Linked DNA regions of Homo sapiens: region 2 is linked to region 1. Evidence: promoter capture Hi-C in human tissues and cell types (Jung and others, 2019). All regions are on one chromosome and are shown on one strand. Each heading gives the region's core, a stretch centred on a gene start or on the middle of the fragment in contact. The rest is flanking DNA. Distances are from core to core; before and after follow the strand shown.

Evidence for each region. The method cuts DNA at HindIII sites, captures the fragments that hold promoters and counts their contacts. A contact is called where the count stands out against the background at its distance.
Region 2: a fragment that was not itself captured here is called in contact with the fragment with the promoter of RNF17 in region 1 in 3 of the 25 tissues and cell types used here (H1 embryonic stem cells, IMR-90 fibroblasts and aorta).

What each region holds. Positions count from the first base shown.
Region 1 is chr13:24,761,603-24,768,322 of GRCh38, reverse strand. It overlaps RNF17 (ring finger protein 17), which reads right to left and starts at 4,154. Exons shown (of 36, transcript NM_031277.3): 1 at 3,990-4,154; 2 at 957-1,051. The coding sequence starts at 4,119. The HindIII fragment of the contact is 17,753 bases long and covers 1-6,720 here.
Region 2 is chr13:24,683,959-24,690,660 of GRCh38, reverse strand. It overlaps ATP12A (ATPase H+/K+ transporting non-gastric alpha2 subunit), which reads right to left. Exons shown (of 23, transcript NM_001676.7): 3 at 5,288-5,347; 4 at 2,139-2,342; 5 at 1,286-1,399; 6 at 189-323; 7 at 1-57. Among named protein-coding and RNA genes, the nearest start is that of ATP12A, 6.9 kb to the right of the region's middle. RefSeq lists a silencer at 6,516-6,605. The HindIII fragment of the contact is 4,194 bases long and covers 1-4,143 here.

The sequences.
Region 1 (6,720 bases), core at 2,905-5,404:
ACACAGTGAGACTCCGTCTCAAAAAAAAAAAAAAAGGAATTTACAGCTTGAGTCAACTTTCCAGGAACAATATTATATAAGCTGAACTACACTTATATTTGTATTAAATGAATAGGATATCAAGTAAATTTTATTTTACATCCTTAATTTGTTCTCATTCTTATGGAAAGATTTCAGTCTTAATGGCTTCTGAAGTAAAAATTTTAGGCAGTAGTTTTGCTTCTCTACCTTGTTGTAGAATGGCATCTCCCAAATGTACATTTGATGACACACAAAGGTTGAGGGGCAGGGGGGGAGTTCAAAATGTGGTTGCATGGATTGGTGGGTAAAACAGGGGCTAGGGTTTTTAAAGGAATATACACCATTAAAATAAACAAAAGACATAATTTTCCACAGAAGTCACCAAAGAATCAAAATATGTAGGCCGATAAGTGTATGACTTTAGCGCCTTTTATTTTTCCTGATCACTTTACACAATTATAAAATGGATAGAAAAAGTTTTATCTTTTGTTAGGTTTCTTTGCTTAAAGATTCAGCAGCAAAAATGCAAGATTTTAGGGTTTTTTTTTTTTTTTTGAGATGGAGTCTTGCTCTGTCGCCAGACTGGAGTGCAGTGGTGCAATCTTGGCTCACTGCAGCCTCCACCTCCCAGGTTCAAGCGATTCTCCTGCTTCAGGCTACCGAGCAGCTGGGACTACAGGTGTGCACCACTAGGTCCAGCAAATTTTTGTATTTTTAGTAGAGACGGGGTTTCCCCATGTTGGCCAAGGTGGTCTTGATCTCTTGATCTCGTGATCTGCCCGCCTCAGCCTCCAAAAGTGCTGGGATTACAGGCGTCAGCCACCACGCCCGGCCAACTTTTTAGTTTCTAACTAGAAGTACGTTTTACTACTGTAGTATTTTTACCATTAACATTAGGTTGTGATATGTTTCATCTGAAAAATTATAACACTTACCTCACAATCAGGGCATATAATTGTGGTGCATTCTTCAGTCATTAACAAGCATAGTTCACAAAAAGCATGTCCACATTGAAGTTCACAATGGTGACCTATTGATGAAATTCTTAATTATTATTTTGATGATGATGATGATTATTGAGACAGGGTCTTGCTCTGTTGCCCAAGCTGGAGTGTAGTGGCACCAGCTCACTGCAGCCTCCACCTCTTGGGCTCAAGTGATCCTCCTACCTCAGCCTCCCAAGTAGCTGGGACTATAGGTGTGTCCCAACACACCCGGCTAATTTTACTGAAGAAATTCTATTGTGATTAAACTGCCCACAGTGTGTTAATGTTGAATGGGCAATACTGATACAAGGGAAATTCAAAGAGGATCCTACTGTACAGGAAAAGATACCTACTACAGTTTGAAATGGTTGACTTATTGAATATAAATCAGGAGTAACCAACTATTCAGGTCAGGAGGGAGAAAAATCAAGAAGAAAAACCAAGAAGAGCTATGTAATAGCATTTGCATTAATTCAGATGGCTATTTTGTACCTAGAATACTTTGAATCTGCCATATCTTACACAAAGTGCTCTGACACATTTTATTTGTTATTTGTAAATATCACAGTTAAGTGGGCTGGAGATGAAATAGCATTTTGGAGATTTGGTTAACTAAATGGTATAATCCAGACTCCTATCTAGCTCTGTTTCCAAGTCTAACATTCTTTCTGATTGATCATACTGCCCTCTACTACTTTATATTTCCCATCCTGTGAAGAGGTCAGGAAGGGCCAAAATGAGACACTGGCAAGACCGTGCTGTTAGAATTATTTAAGACACTGGCAAGGCCAGAAGCCAGATGCTACTATTATCACATATCTACAACTCACATTTTCACAAACTTAGCATTTATGAAAGGAAATATCGTAACTTGATTGAAAACCTAACATCATGATTAAATGCTCTAAGAATTTGAAGTTTATAATAAATAACATTTGTTTTAGCTATATAATTTCAAAAGGTTGTCATTTTTAAAGTTTTGCAAGAAAACTGAAAAGGGAAAAAAACTAGATAAAAATCAGTCATCTTTTACTAGCAAAATAATTATAGAGTTCTTGCTGAATTATAATCGCATTAATTTTATTTATTTATTTATTCATCCATTCATTCACTCATTCTGAGACGGACCACGATCTCGGTTCACTGCCAACTCTGCCTCCTGAGTTCATGCTATTCTCCTGCCTCGGCCTCCGGAGTAGCTGAGATTACAGGTGTGCGTCAGCACGCCTAGCTAATTTTTTTGTATTTTTAGTAGAGATGGGATTTCACCATGTTGCCTAGGCTGGTCTTGATCTCCCGACCTCAAGTGATCCGCCCACCTCGGCCTCCCAAAGTGCTGGGACTATAGGCGTGAGCCACTGTGCCCGGCCTTGCATTAATTGTATTTTTTAAAAACTTTACAAGTTTCCTATCCAACTGAAATACCTGAAACTTGCTTACAACCATGCTAAATTTTAAAACCCTATTTAACTTCCAGGGATAATATTGCCAAAGAAATAAAAACACTTAACTATTATAAAATTTCTGATACTGAATAACTCAAAATAACTTGTGGTGAATTACAGCTTAAAAAGCACTTTCAGGATTCTATATACATAACCACTACTTCTCCAGTTTAGTTTTTCTAAGCATTATAATACTAATGTATGGAAGAAGTACTCATTTTAAAAGGTTGTGTTCTAGAACTTTATTCCGTAATTTTAATTTCATTCAAAAATGGAAATTTTCTACGTAACGGTAGCAGTGATCTAAACCCCAAGTAGGAGAAACTTGGTTCTCCACTGAAATCACAACTTTTTCTGCAGAGGCTCACATCTCACAGAGTCCATCTTGCCAAGACTGAGAAAACTGATCGAATGACCTTAACTTTGAAAGTATAAACATTAAACAGTTACGCCAGGTAATACGAATTTTCAGTAGCTCCAGGAATTGAGATTCAACAACTCAGCTGTATTAAGAGCACACTAAGGTATTTTAAGTTACATTAAAATAACTTGAACCGGCCGGGCGCGGTGGCTCACGCCTGTAATCCCAGCACTTTGGGAGGCCAAGACGGGCGGATCACGAGGTCAGGAGATCGAGACCATCCTGGCTAACACGGTGAAACCCTGTCTCTACTAAATATACAAAAAATTAGCCGGGCGTGGTGGCGGGCGCCTGTAGTCCCAGCTACTCCAGAGGCTGAGACAGGAGAATGGCGTGAACCTGGGAGGCGGAGCTTGCAGTGAGCCGAGATCGCGCCACTGCACTCCAGCCTGGGCTACAGAGCGAGACTCCAACTCAAAGAAAAAAATAATAATAAATAACTTGAACCTGTGATCACTTGAGTAGATTGTAGGTGAACAGACCAATAATAGTGCAGTGTATTTTTCCCCTCACGTATAAAGACCAACACACACACACACACACACACACACACACACACACCCCACAAGGTGCACAAAAGAAACTATCATTTTCCAAACAGTGTTTTAGGCCAGTGTGAGCCATAATGTAAAAAACAAACAAAAAAACCCCCACAGAAACAACAAAATGCTAACAACAACAACAAAATCCAAAACCATTTCACAATGGTCTACTTGTTACTCCTACAACAAAAACTACAGGAGAAAATCAAGTTTCGTTCCTTCTTGATGACAAAACAATGGGCTACATTTTATGTCTACTTTTGCATGCACCCGCTAACCTGCCTTGTGAGGAGTAGATTAAAGCCACCCGGGCCCCCATCCTCCCGGCTGGAGGGTCGGTGAGGCCTGGATGGGTAATTGGAGAAAGCCGTGACAGGCGCAGGTGCTGCCCTTAACCAACCCAAGCACTGCCCTCTTAGAGGTCGGGTGCAGCTCGCGGGAGGCCTGTGACGCAGTTTCTGGTGACACCAGGATTGGATGCAGCTGACCAAGCCTCACGCGCCCACCAGCTCACCTGGCCCCCAGCGCTCCCTCCAGGCTGCCTCCCCGCTAGGTGGGCCCTTGGGCTCCTCACCGGATGATCTGGATACCCTCCTTCCACACCTGGTGCACTGGATTTCAGCGGCACCCCAGGGCTGACTCTTCCTCCCCATTCGCTGGTAGGAAGACCTAGAAGGCCCAGTCTTCGAAGCCTCTGCCGCCATCGCTGTCTCTTTCTTCTGGAACAACCGCCGAGTGCGAGTCCCGGCGGCCCTCGCGGCAGCGACCAATCATTGGAGGCCAGCCCCTGCAGATAGCCAAACAGTGGGCCGGGAGATTAAAGCCCGCCCCCAAGCTCGCTCCTGATGGGGCTGGGGCTGTTTTCCGTTATCCTGGGAGGTACCACTCCTAGAAGGGGCGCCTTGTGGCCGTTGAGGACCGTTCGTTTTTACGTTCTACCCAAAGAGTCACCACTTTAGTGCTTTTAGTCATCACAAATTAAAATTTCGCATATTATTACTTACATTGTGAGTGACTTTATAGATAATCATTTGGATTGAAACAATCCCCTTTCCCTATTACGTGTCAGGGCCAGAAGCCCTAAACCTGTGTGCTTCGGGCATCCAGGGCTTGGCCAATAGCAGCTGGAGTGGAGAAGCTAATGAGAAGCTATCGTTGGGGTAGATTCAGTGAACGCTTTCGAATTAAGGAGTGTTCATCATTACTAACTGCTGTTGAGCCTAATAATATACAAGGCAGCGTGCCAAGAGTGGTTGGGGATGCTAAGAATTTATGAACTAGCAGGTTTCTGCTTGAGAGATACATAACTCCTTAAAAAAACCCAGTAACTTCCGCCAAAATAAGTGTTATGTACCGGACCTGTGTTAGAGACAGTAAGAATTAGCCTTCTGGGCCCGGCGCGGTGGCTCACGCCTGTAATGCCAGCACTTTGGGAGGCCAGGGCGGGCAGATCACGAGGTCAGGAGATCGAGACCATCCTGGCTAACATGGTGAAACCCTGTCTCTACTAAAAATACAAAAAAAAAAAAAAAAAAAAATTAGCCGGACGTGGCGGTGGGCGCCTGTAGTTCCAGCTACTTGGGAGGCTGAGGCAGGAGAATGGCGTGAACCTGGGAGGCGGAGCTTGCAGTGAGCCGAGATCATACCACTGCACTCCAGTCTGGGCGACAGAGCGAGACTGCGTCTCAAAAAAAAAAAAAAAAGAGTTGAAGCAACTTGTCCAAGCATAGTTCACAAAAAGCAATGAAGAAATGAAGTCAATATGGTCTACGGTGGTATGAAAACTCTTCGTAGAGGATATAGGGTTTGCACTAGACCTTACAACCTAGGTAGTACTTACAGGAGTAAACAAGAACTAAGGGATTCCAAGAATAAAGAACACATCAGCGAGGGAAGGTAGATGTGAGGGAAGGTAGATGGAAGACACAGTGACTTCTTGAGAATTTAAAGACCATTTAGCCAGAGTATGAGTTTCCTTAAAGTAAGCTTCTTTGGAGAGGTGTGTCAGGGAAGAATTTCGGAGAATCTCGAGTGTAAGGCTGAGGAGTTTGGACTTTACTCTTTAAGCAGTAGAGTGCATGAGACGTTTTGTGAGCAAGGAATGAAGTAATCTAGTAGAAAGGTGGCAGGTGTATTTCAAACAAAACACCTGGAGGTGGCACGGTTGCCTTTTGCTGCTAAGAATAAAGCCTGCCCATATTCCTCATTTTCTTTTCTCTCTACACTGTGTGTGGGTAACTAGAAACTGTGAAGTAAGTATTCTCTTGAAAGGCTCACTTCGGCTCAAAAATCTTTGTAATTTGTTGTCTTCGAGAGAAAAGTACTGCTTCCCTAAATTACCCTCATTCTACTACTCATCCAATAGTTTCCACTACTAATCCATGATGGAACTGAGTACTAATCAAGCCAATATTCTCATGTAACATGTTGACTCTTCTACAGTTTTGTGAGTATTATTCCCTATTCCCCTCATCTGGAATACCTACTGTTCACTCTTCATCAATTCATATTCTCTTTTTTTTTTTTTTTTTTTTTTTTAGAAATGGAGTCTTGCTCTGTCGCCCAGGCTGGAGTGCAATGGCGAGATCTCAGCTCACTGCAACCTTGGTCTCCGGGTTCAAGCAATTCTCCTGTCTCAGCCTCCCCAGTAACTGGGACTACAGGCGCATGCCACCACGCCCAGCTGATTTTTTGTATTTTAGTATTGACTGGGTTTCACTGTGTTGCACAGGCTGCTCTCAAACTCCTGAGCTCAGGCAGTCTGCCCGCCTTAGGCCTCCCAAAGTGCTAGGATTACAGGCGTGAGCCACCGCGTCCGGCCCATATTCTCCTTATCCTTCCTGGATCAGCTTTAGAAGCACTTTCTCCTTTAAACCTTCACATTTCTCTCCACACTTAATGCTATTCTAGCATGTAGCAAGCCTCTTTTTCCTCTAGGATAGCTGTACTGTAATTTGAATAATGACAATCTCATTGCATAGGTGTTCATCGTGGGCCATAATGTGGATATTTAATGTGGGTCTTGAGTTTCATCAGAGATGCCTTTGGTAATCCCAGAAATTGAATTAATCTTGGATAAATCAGGGCCAGTGAGAAATACACTGATAGATGATTATACCACATTTGTTCATTTCTTAGCACTTACCAAGAACCCTCAAATAGAGCAGCCAGAAATGTCTTCTTAACATTCAATTTAGGTTGTTTAAATCCTTTGTTTGGAACCCTTTAATGGCTTCCTATGAATTACAACAAAACCTTAATGGCCTTGGAGGTTTGCCCTCTGCCTGCCTCTCTACCAGTGCCTT
Region 2 (6,702 bases), core at 797-3,296, 76 kb after region 1:
AAACTCAGAGGAGCGGGGCTGGGGCTCAGACTCCCCCGTGAGAGATGAGTTATCCACCTAGAAGAAATGTTGAAGGTGGTTCACAGCTGGGTACCTCATTCCCTGCCTCTTATACTGATGCTGGGAAAGACCCCAGAGCCAGCAGGTTTGGAACATGGTCCTTGGGGTGGATACCCCTTGCCGCTTACCCGACACCCCTGAGAAGACAGCACCCTGATGTCTGCAGGGATCTGGTCTCCTCCTTTGACCTCCACAATGTCCCCCACCACCAGCTGCTCTGAAGGGATGGTCTTCTTCTCGGAATCTCGGATGACGAGAGCTTGCTGCAGAAAAAAACCATGACAGATGCCTCAGACCCTGGAAGGACACCGGCCCTCCCCCAAGTCTGTGCCGCACCGAACCCCAGGACAGAGGCCTTGGAACTTCCTGATCACTCTCACTGTTGAGTCCATGCTGTTATGCAGCCTGCACCTGGCCCTGTGGACACAGCATTGCTGCTGGAGCATGAGGCTGTCAGAACAGCAAGAATGAAACAGAAGACTGCTTCACCCGAGGCCTGAAGACTCTAAGAACTACTTTTTCTTGAGCTTATGGAGAGTTCTTGGAACAGAAGAGTCGCTGTTGGCCAGATCTGGCCAAGCCAGAGCCCTGGGCCTCCTAGAAAAGGAGACCACTAAGGGTGAGCAATCCTGGCTGGGCGTCTGGGCAGAACACTGAAGGTGGGGCTGGGGAGGCTGATAATCTTGCGAGTGTCAGGGAAATTTTAACGAGGTGATCTCCTGCTTCAAGCTTGGCAGGAGGCGTCTTTTCCACCCAGAATCTCTCCAGCCCACAGTTCTCTGGGCCAGAGACAGTGTGGACACCTGACAGGGGTTTTTGGGGAAGAAGGGAGCACTGGGCTTCCCCACCAAATGCATTCTGGGGCTCAGGAGCAAAAATGGTCACAGATAAACAATTGCAGGCTGGTCTCCTTGGCTGCCAGTGAAAGAACACTCCCTGACCTTCCACAGGTCCCTTCCAGAACCCAGAAGGACTATCCACAAACACTGAGGAGCAGGAACAGAAGATGCCTTGGGCTAACCAGCACTGCCCTGGGTGGTGCCTCATTTGACCATCAAAATCCTGTGAGGAACTGGGGTTCTGACAGATGGGTTAATTCGCCCACGATTGCTCCGACAGGGAAGGAAGTGGAAACCCGTAGCCCTCAGGGCCCTGTGCCCCTCCCAGCTGAGGCTTCCTCACCTGGGAGTCACCAGAGGCCAGAGGATAGGTGGCTGCCACTCACCTGAGGGATCATCTTATTGAAGCTGGACATGATGTTGGTGCTTTTTGCCTCTTGGTAATAAGCAAAGATCCCCGTTAAAATGACCACCAGACCAAGCACACAGCCCAAGTACACCTGGGTGAGAAGGAGGGCGTCAGTCAGAGAAACCAGCAGTGGGAAGCAGCCGGGCCCTGGGGCTAGAGCTCTCCACGGGAGGATGCAATGCTGGCAGTTACGCCCTGGTATAATTTACAGGCCATGGAATTCGCCCATGTTAAGTGCGCAACTTATTGATTTTTTTTTTTAAGTTTACAGAGCCATGACACCACCCTCCACCGCAGCCTCAGAGCATCTCCATCCTGCCTGGAGATCCCTCCGGCCCCTCTGCCGTCACTCCCTGCTCCTGTCCCATGCCCTGGCATCACCGATCTGGTTCCTGCTTCCAAGGATGTGCCTGTTCTGCACATTTCATGTCAATCCAATCCTATGACATGTAGCTTGTTGCCTCTGGCTTCTGTCTCTTGGCATCACGTTGGCCAATTCAGTTTTGTGGATTTGGTACTCATGTCTCGGCAGGCACAGCTGCTCTCCGTGTTAAAGGAAGAGGTTAGCTTGGGGGAGACAGAACCCCAAACTACTTCACATGGATGCAGATTTTCTCCCCCTTAAAAATTCAAGGTGTTTTGTGTATCCCTCTTCATGCCCACACTGCCTCTAGAAGATCAGAAAGCCAGATAGAATTTCTGTTTTACAGCTGGGAAAATGCCTGACTTTCCCACACCTAGGCAGTGGCATTCAGCCCCCAGCTGTGCCCCCAAGGCCTCACTGGATGGCTCTGCCAGCAAAACCAGGAGGGGACACCCCAGAGCCTTACGTTGTTCAGGGATGCAGACTTGTCGCTGGAGTACTGAATCCCATATGCAATCCAACAGAGAAAGGCGCCCACCCACAGGAGGATAGAGAACCCCCCCACCATCTGCTTGAGGAACTTGACGATCTCAGGCGTCTGCTTGGGAGGGGTGAGGGAGTTGGGCCCATCCCGGGCCAGGAGCTCGGCAGCTCTGGTGCTGGAGAGACCCTGGGAAAGCCAAACAAAGCACATGCACAACCAAAACAAATACGAATTAGACATTCCTCCTCCCTCAGGGGTTGGGCTGCATATTTTTGCAGCTTGGGGTGAGGCATTAACGTGGCCAAAGAAGGTCCCGAGAAAAGCAGACCGTGCCTCACTTCTCCAGCTGCCCAGCTTTTTTGAAAGACTATGTAATGCTTAATACCAGCCAGGCACTGTGCTCTGTATATTCACTCATTTAGTCTTTAAAATAACCCTTGAGGCAGGGGCCATTATTCCTCCCTCTCGTCATTCGCAGAGGTGGAATTTGAGGCACAGAGAAATTACGTAACCTGTCGAAGGGACCTGGCCTGTCAATGGTAGCGACCAGGTTCAACGTGGTGACTGGGTCCAGAGCCACTGCACTCTGCTCTGCTAAGGGGTTTTAGTTTCTTAGAGGTTTATCCGGTGAGAGGACTAATTTGATGAAGGAGGACTTGGAATGAAGAAGCTGCTCACCAGGGCTAAGGGCAATGCAGTAACTCCCCAGGAAATAGGGAAGCTTCTGGAATCCTGCACAGAGAGCATGTGGCTTTAGTTTCCATCCTTACGCCTGCTCCTTTTCCACCTTTCTACACATCCAGCCTAAGTTCTCATTCATCTTGACAGGCATAAATCCTACCCAAGCCCTGAGCCCATGTGAGCAGCCCCTGCCCTGGGGGGCCTGCCATCCGTGAGGCACCCTCACCTTTGAAACCCTACATGTTCACAGGAATTTCCCCCACAGACGATCTTTGGTGGACAAGTCTGTAGATACCTCTTCTCCCTAATTATGTTGTAAGCTACTTAAAGGGCAGGACTCTGTCTTGGTCTTTTTTTTTTGAGACAGAGTCTCGCTCTGTTGCCCAAGCTGGAGTGCACTGGTGCGATCTCGTCTCACTGCAACCTCCTCCTCCTGGGTTCAAGCGATTCTCCTGCCTCAGCCTCCCAAATAGCTGGGATTACAGGCAGCGGCCACCACACTTGGCTAATTTTTAAAATATTTTTAGTAGAGACAGGGTTTCACCACGTTGGCCAGGCTGGTTTCGAACTCCTGACCTCAAGTGATCTGCCCACCTTGGCCTCCCAAAGTGCTATGATTACAGACCTAAGCCACCATGACAGGCCAGTCTTGGTCATTTTTGTGTTCTCTCCCGGGTCTCATGCTTTTTCTGTGGTAGTGATTCAAATATCTGTTGAATGGCTAGATTCAGGCTCACCACCTCGATCCCATCTCCCTCCACTCCAATTCCTTTTCCAGAACCCCAGACTCATCTTTCTGAATAACTGTGGAACATTTCCTCAGGGGTGTTCCGGAGAGACTTCTCCTGGTATAACTCACAATAAGTTCATCATCGCCTCCACCCTCCTGCCTTCCCTGCTCTCACCTCCCTGCCCCCACCCCAGCCCATCACCCGACCGGCTCTCCTCCTCCTGCTGCTGTGACATGACTAGCGAGATGAGGGGCTCAATAAAAATCCCCGCAAGTCCTGCTGGTTGTGTCTCTCTGCAATTTCTTTCTTTCTTTCCTTCCTTCCTTCCTTCTTTCTTTCTTTCCTTCTTTTCTTTCGACAGAGTCTCGCTCTGTCGCCCAGGCTGGAGGGCAGTGGCGCGATCTCCGCTCACTGCAAGCTCCGCCTCCCAGGTTCACGCCATTCTCCTGCCTCAGCCTCCCGAGTAGCTGGGACTACAGGCGCCCGCCACCGTGCCCGACTAATTTTTGTATTTTTAGTAGAGACGGGGTTTCACCGTGTTAGCCAGGATGGTCTCGATCTCCTGACCTCGTGATCCGCCCGTCTTGGCCTCCTAAAGTGCTGGGATTACAGGCGTGAGCCACCACGCCCGGCCCTTTTTTTTTTTTTTTTTGAGATGGAGTTTTGCTCTTGTTGCCCAGGCTGGAGTGCAATGGCATGATCTTGGCTCACCGCAACCTCTGCCTCCTGGGTTTCAGAGATTCTCCTGCCTCAGCCTCCTGAGTAGCTGAGATTACAGGCATGTGCCACCACGCCCTGCCAATTGTTTGTATTTTTAGTAGAAACGGGGTTTCACTATGTTGGTCAGGCTGGTCTCAAACTCCCGACCTCAGGTGATCTGCCCACCTCAGTCTCCCAAAGTGCTGGGATTACAGGCCTGAGCCACCACGTCTGGCCCCTGTAATGTCTTTCGACATTATTTCAGATCCTCATTTCACAGTCCTGGGCTGTTGTTCCATTCTTCTAGACCCTTCCATTTCTCACTTTAAAAAAAGAATCTTCTATGAGAACTGCCTTTTGAAAACCAATGAAAGCACCTCCATGTGTGGAAACCATGTCCCTTCTGCCTCTAAGACAGCTCCTACTCATTAGTTTAATGTGAATACTTTGACAGCTTCACCCAGATGACCTTCCTGGCTTCATTCCTGCTGCACCTGTCCCCTCTCCACACATACTAGCTTCCGGCAAGCCCAGATTCTCTCCAAGCAGGCTCTGTGCTTACTGGCCCTGGGGTCCCCCACCAGCTTAAATCCGAAGCATTTTGAGTCCCAGCGCAAACATGGCAGCAGCCCGAGAGCTGGCTCTGGCCCCTTCCATCAGAATCCACCTTTGTCCCAGCATAGCGTTTCTACTTCTTGTAGCCATCCCAGGGGGATAGAGTGAATCTCAGGACACTTCCATACACATTTGCCTCCCCTACCCGGCCACTTTCTCCTTGAGGCCAGGGGTCATCTGTCCCTCTTGGTCCCTCTCACTGCCAGGCCAGTGTGAGCCCCACAGTAGGTTTTTCTGTTGACTTGAACTGTGTCCAGATGCAAATAACTGCAGTCTCAAAGGCGCTGCAGGGGCCCCTCCTCCTAAAGGTGCCGCTACTCTTCCACACAGCCCCCCGCCACACACAGCCTTCCCTCTGTAGAGTTGGGAGGCTTCTCTTCCAAATCCCTGGTTCCCACGACTCACCATAATGATGTCTGTGCCATATTTCTCTTCCAATTCCCTATTGCTGAGTTTGTGGTCATCCTGAAGTCCATGAAAGGAAGAACAGAGTGAATTAGATAATTCCAAAAGACTCAAGCCCCAAGCTTTGACCAGCCATGGAAGCTGGGAGTAGCAGCCCTGAGGATGGGAGGGGATCGAGGAGTGTGGGGGACAGGAGAGAAAGAACCCCTGTGCCAGGCAGCTGCCCAGCGAAGGATGGCACTGCCTCAGGAGTGACTGTCCCTGAGTCGGCACAATCCTGCACTTGCTGTTACTACCCAGAAGCTGCCTGCAGCTTTTCTGAACAAAGCCATGCACCTCGCTTCAATCTGAACTCCAGGGCATACAGGTTCTGGCACCCTCATCTTCCAGGTGCCAGTGAGCTGGAGGCTTCCCTCAGGCCTGAACCCTGGGATTGGCTGGGGCTGATGGCAAAACCACACTAGAACCGCTTCCTGGGCTGGCACAACTCCTCCTCCTTCGCTGTGTGGGCTCTGGCAGGGAAAAGCAGCTTCCCTCACTCAAGCTGTGACGCTCAGGGAGCTCACTGGGCAGAGAAACCCTGCAGGGAAAAGTTCTGCTGAATAAACCCACAGCATTGTGGCTGCCACTTGTGAATTCTGCTACAGAATCATTAGACTACAGCAGGGTTTCTCACCCGTGGCCCTGCTGCCATTCTGGGAGAATAATTCTTTGTTGTGGGCTCCACCCACTAACATCCTCCCCTCAGTTGTGGTAACCAAAAATGTTTCCATTTTTCCCCTGGGAGAGGGGTGGGGGAATCCTCTTCTCCTCTCCCTTTGAGAACCACTGGGCTAAAGGACAAGAAGTCTCTTCCTGTAGCAGAAAACCTAGGGTAAGTCTTCCTCACTCCCCCTAGAAAGTCCAGCACTCAGGATTTTTTAAACCCTGATTGTCTGAAACAAAGATTGATACTGTTGACTGGTGCTCACATCATCTCTTTTCTTAAGTATATGCAAAAAATAGTTCCATGTTGCAGTAAGAGACTAGGCCTTCCAATAAAGCAGAATTCATTATTATCATTATTATCTTGCTTCTAGCCCTCTTCTCAGCCAGATTCTGTTTTGCTCCTTCATCCCTTCTACTAATACTGATTGAGTGTGATATTGCTGGGGATTCAGAAGATTAAGGCTGTGTTCTGCACAGAGCACAGCACAACCCACTAAGTTTTGGGCAGATACAAGTAGTGGATGATCCGAGCCATTGTTTGCATGCATGGGACCTCAGACTTCCTGGGCTGGGGGATGAGAGCATGGGGGAGGGGTGGGACGAGGTGGTGGTGGTTATCTGGGGTGCCCTCTGCTGGCCAGCACTGGACTAGCACAGGGCAGCACCCCACCCACCCCTCGGGTCACTGCCTGGCCCTTTCATTCAAA